2 separate regions of the Homo sapiens genome follow, and region 2 is linked to region 1. Evidence: promoter capture Hi-C in human tissues and cell types (Jung and others, 2019). All regions are on one chromosome and are shown on one strand. Each heading gives the region's core, a stretch centred on a gene start or on the middle of the fragment in contact. The rest is flanking DNA. Distances are from core to core; before and after follow the strand shown. Region 1 holds the start of BPIFC (BPI fold containing family C). Region 2 overlaps SLC5A4-AS1 (SLC5A4 antisense RNA 1).

Region 1 (2,703 bases), core at 11-2,510:
GAATTGTTCAGTTACGATGATAACTTATGGGCAGGGGAGGAAAGGAACCTTGTCAAGCAAGGTGATGACTACTAAAAGGTTAAGTAATTTGGCTGACAAGTGCAGGCAGGGCTAGTTGCCTGTTAAAAGGATCCAAGATCACTTAAAAACCCCACCAGCAAGTTATCTATTTTGTTGCTTCTGGGGAATTGCTTCTTTCCAAGATTCAAAATCTCAGTAGTCATTATTTTTCCATACAAATACACAGACAGAATAATACTCCTAAATTAAATGGTCCTTGTGTGAGTCATCCTGACAGCTAAGAAAATGCCAGTCCAATTTAGAAAACACCTGAAACTCACAGATGGTCCTACTACTACTGCTGCTTGGCAAGAGCTTTGACTGACTCTGGAAAAACCGATTAAGGGAGTAATGAATGAGTAAAATGTAGCCTTCAAAACAGAGGCGCAGGTTGAAAAATTAAGTTCAACAGGTTTAAAGAAGTCTAAACTAGAAGGGTATTCCGACATATTGGTTAAGACAAAATGACCGTACATAAGAAGTCTAAATCGACAGGTATGGAACGTGGGCAGAATATTTCAAGGGATCCACTCCTCACATCTAGTTTTATAGCAACATCTCTAATGACAAGGACCTTGAGAATTCATAGCATGTCTTTTCCCCAAAACTCTATGCCTAACACCAACAAGTTCAACAGTCCAGGCAAGTGGGTGGCTAGTTTTGCTCTGGCAGGATCTAGGTCACTGATGTGCTTTAAGACCTGCCTTGAAAGCACAGAGATTATAACAACTCCTTAGTCCTAACCATGCTGATTTTGAGAGACAAGATAGAATTTTCTGCCACTGTGCTGGGTTCCCCTCTGAAATGGAGGCAAAAATAAGTCCAGATCACTGAGCAACCCTCTTAACATTGTTCCATGATGCAAAACTAAGTAGGTGGTTTAAACCAACTCTTTTCTCTCTTATGGCTGTTTAGCTGTCACTAAAGCTTTTGCCTAAGAAGCCTCCAGGTGCGCATATGTGACATCACACAAACAAACAAACAAAGATACAGAAAAATCTAGGCAGACAATAATAATAACCCAGGATATATGACAGCTGCCTGTTCAAAGTGTCCTACCAAATCTGGGACATCTCCAGTTTGGAGATCATGGCTGGCAGAGACCTGAAGTTTGTTCATGAGTCTTACCTCAAGCAGAGGAAGTGTCCAAAGCTGGAGAGCACCTTCGATTCTCTCTGCCTTTGAAGCTGATGTGTTCTCCACCTTGCGCCTTAAACTCAGCTGCTAAAAAGCCAAGATAATTAAGTCTGACTCATCTCAGTGGTGAATTTTTTTAATGCCTCTTTCAAAATGTGATACATAATTGCTTCACTACAATTACCCAATGGCATGAATGAGCACTACAGTATCTACCTAGATAAACAGACAGTGCCACCTATGCAATAATTATCTTCCTGCAAAACACACACACACACACACACACACACACACACACACCACTTGTGAAATTGTGATGGCTACTTTACCAAAATGATTGAAAACGGTGTTAAACTGCATTGGAAGAGGAAGAATTTTCCTGTCTGGAATCATAAGCTGGTTCCTTCTGGTCAGGGTGCCTGCGGTGGATGGCTCTACTACTGCCCAGAATACCTTTGGGACTTGTGGTGGATCATCAGATTCAGTCTGAAAGCATGAGGCTTGACAATCGGGCTGACCTAGTTACCTTATCACTCAGGGTAGGACCTCAGTTGGCATCTCTCAGTGTCCGTCCGCTCCTTTTCAGAATGTTATTAATGACTTACTGTTCCAGCATTCCTTAAACCTAAGTTGGGTGGGTGGGTTCATCAACTATTATGCAACTTAACATTTTCAGATTCCAAACTCCAGCCCTACTCTCATCTCCAATAAATTCATTTTAGTTAATGTGTTTTATCTATTTTTATTTTTATTTATTTATTTTTTGAGATGGAGTCTCACTCTGTCACCCAGGCTGGAGTGCAGTGGAGCGATCTTGGCTCACTGCAACCTCCGCCCCCTGGGTTCAAACAATTCTCCTGCCTCAGCCTCCCTAGTAGCTGGGATTACAGGAGTGCGCTACCACGCCCAGCTAATTTTTTGTATTTTTAGTACAGACAGGGTTTCGCTGCATTGGCCAGGCTGGTCTCGAACTCCTGACCTCATGTGATTGATCCACCCGTGTTGGCTTCATAAGTGCTGGGATTACAGATGTGAGCCATCATACCCGGCCATTAATGTATTTTAGATGGCCAGGGATTTGATTGTATGAAGTTTTTTTTTTTGTTTTTTGGTTTTTTTTTTTTTGAGACAGTCTCACTGTCACCCAGGCTGGAGTGCAGTGGCATGATCTTGGCTCACTACAACCTCTGCCTCCAGGGTTTAAGCGATTCTTGTGCCTTAGCCCTCTGAGTAGCTGGAATTACAGGTGTGCACCACCAAACTTGGCTAATTTTTGTATTTTTAGTAGTGATGGGGTTTCACCATGTTGGCCAGGCTGGTCTTGAACTCTTGACCTCAAGTGATCCACCTGCCTTGGCCTCCCAAAGTCCTGGGATTACAGGCATGATCCACCGCACCCAGCCTGATTGCATGAAGTTCTTATGGCTTATCTACACTTTTCTGGGTAAGACCCGGTGACCAACTGTCCTGGTTTCCCAAGAATGCAGGATTTTCAGTACTAAAACC
Region 2 (2,700 bases), core at 109-2,608, 190 kb before region 1:
CACCTGAAATATTTATGCCCCCAAACCATAGTTGAATATAGACTAGAGATGACTAGAGATTTTGAAGGTAATGTAATAGTTAGGTCGTGCTCTAGGCCTGTGCTGTCTAATGTGGTAGTCGCCATTGGCTGCAGAGCCCTTAAATGTGGTTAGTGTCCTCTGTGAAAATGATAATAATTTGGGATATACAGGCTTATAATATACTATTTAAAGTATTTTTTGCATTTTTTCTCTTGAGACAGAGTTTCGCTCTTTCGCCCAGGCTGAGTGCAGTGGTGTGATCTCGGCTTACTGCACGCTCTGCCTTCTGGGTTCAAGCGATTCTGCCTCAGCCTCCTGAGTAGCTGGGACTGCAGGAGCATGCCACCACACCGGGCTAATTTTTATATTTTTAGTAAACACAGGGTTTTGCCATGTTGGCCATGGCGGTCTCGAACTCCTCACCTTGTGATCTGCCCACCCTGGCCTCCCAAAGTGCTGGGATTACAGGCGTGAGCCACCACGAGCGGCTGCATGTTTTTTATTACTTTTTTAGCATGTCTACAGGAAAATTTAAAATTATACATGTGGCTGTCATATTTCTTTGGGTGTAGCACTGACCTAAAACATAACTTCTCAAGCTTGTTTATATTAAATCACCTGGAGATCTTTTAAAAATCCGTATTTTGATTCCATAGGAGTGGGCTGGCCTGTCCTGTAGAAGCTACCTCATCGATGTGCAGGCCCTGGATGAGAAGCTGCTCATCATCATCGCCCTGCAGTTCCTGCACGGCTACTACAAGCCCATCCTGTTCGAGCCCAACCAGACCTGGCCCGGGCACGTGGCTGTGTGGCAGGACACGTGCTCCATCGTGGCCATCTTGCTAACATCACGCAGAAGGTGCACCCCGTCATCTGATCTCTCACCAGCTACCCTTTGACTGCACCCAGGCTCTGGCCGTACCCAAGCCCATAGGTGGGGTGGTGGTCTTTGTCGTCAGCTCGCTGTTATACCTGAACCAGAGCATTCCCCCGTACGGTGTGGCTCTCAGCAGCCTCACCACAGGCACCGCAGCTTTCCCGCTGTGCACCCAGCTGGGTGTGTGAATCCCCCTGGACTGCGCCCAGGCCACCTTCATCTCCCATGACAAGATGGTCATCTCCCTCAAGGGCAGTCAGATCTACATGCTGACCCTCATCACCGATGGCATGCGTAGCGTCCGAGTGTTCCACTTTTGACAAGGCGGCCACCAGCGTCCTCACCACCAGCATGGTCACCATGGAGCCTGGGTACCTGTTCCTGAGTTCTTGCCTGGGCAACTCTCTCCTCCTCAAGTACACCGAGAAGCTTCAGGAGCCCCCGGCCAGTGCTATCTGTGAGGCTGCTGACAAGGAAGAGCCTCCCTCACAGAAGAAGCGAGTGGACACATGGCCAGCTGGTCAGCCAGGGACAAATCCGTGTCACAGGACGACATGGACGAGATTGAAGTGTACGGCAGCGACGCCCAGTCGGGCACACAGCTGGCCACCTACCTTTGAGGTGTGTGACAGCATCCTTAACATTGGACCCTGCACCAATGCTGCCATGGGTGAGCCTGCCTTCCTGTCTGAAGAGTTTCAGAACAACCCTGAGCCGGACCTGGAGATTGTGGTTTGCTCCAGCCACAGGAAGAATGGGGCTCTGTCGGTGCTGCAGAAGAGCATCCAGCCCCAGGTGGTGACAACCTTTGAGCTTCCCGGCTGCTACGACATGTGGACAGTCATCGCCCTGGTGCCTAAGGAGGAGAAAGAGAATCCCAAGGGGGAGGGCACGGAGCAGGAACCCAGCACCCCCGAAGCGGACAATGACCACCGCAGACAGTGATTCCTGATTCTGAGCCAGGAAGACTCAACCATATTCCCGCAGATGGGGCAGGAGATCATGGAGCTGGACACCAGTGGCTTTGCCACGCAGGGCCCCACGGTCTTTGCCGAAAACATCGGGGACAACCACTACATTGTCCAAGTGTCGCTGCTGGGCATCCACCTGCTGGAAGGAATGAATCAGTTGTACTTCATCCCTGTGGGCCTGGTCACCCGCAACATGCAGTGCACTGTAGGCAACCCCTGCGTGGTCATCATGAGTGCCGACGGCCGCGTCACCATGTTCCTGCTGAAAAGCACACTCCTATAGTGGCTGCCACGACCACCTGGTGCTGCACAAGCCCCCGCTGCACCATCAGCCCAACGTGATCACGCTGTGCCTGTACCGAGACCTCAGTGGCATGTTCACCACTGAGAGCTGCCTGAGCGGGGCTCACGATGAGCTAGGGGGCCACAGTGGCTTGGAGGCCGAGAGCCTGGGCTCGGAGACTAGCCCCACAGTCGGTGATGAGGAAATGCTGTGTGGGGATTTGGGATCCCTCTTCAGTCCCAGCAAGGAGGTGGCCCGAAGAAGCAGCCAGCCCCTGCCGACTGGGACTCTGTACCCTTCCAGACAGAGCCCATCCACTGGTGCCTGCTGTTGCAGGAGAATGGCACCATGGTGACCTGCCAGCTCCCCGACTGGCGGCTGGTGTTCTTGGTGAAGAACTTCCCTGTGGGGCAGCGGGTCCTCATGGACAGCTCCTTTGGAGAGCCCACCACACAGGGCGAGGCCCGCAGGGAGGAGGCCATGTGCCAGGAGGAGCTGCCTCTCTCGTCAAGGAGGTGCTGCTGGTTGTGCTGGGCAGCCGCCAGAGC

Evidence for each region. The method cuts DNA at HindIII sites, captures the fragments that hold promoters and counts their contacts. A contact is called where the count stands out against the background at its distance.
Region 2: a fragment that was not itself captured here is called in contact with the fragment with the promoter of BPIFC in region 1 in 1 of the 25 tissues and cell types used here (H1 embryonic stem cells).

What each region holds. Positions count from the first base shown.
Region 1 is chr22:32,463,186-32,465,888 of GRCh38, forward strand. BPIFC (BPI fold containing family C) reads right to left here and starts at 1,261. Exons shown (of 17, transcript NM_174932.3): 1 at 1,189-1,261. The HindIII fragment of the contact is 9,351 bases long and covers 1-2,703 here.
Region 2 is chr22:32,268,680-32,271,379 of GRCh38, forward strand. SLC5A4-AS1 (SLC5A4 antisense RNA 1) reads left to right here. Exons shown (of 4, transcript NR_149072.1): 4 at 678-2,700. It also overlaps a transcript of SLC5A4 not described here and the pseudogene CPSF1P1. Among named protein-coding and RNA genes, the nearest start is that of SLC5A4, 15 kb to the left of the region's middle. The HindIII fragment of the contact is 4,471 bases long and covers 1-2,700 here.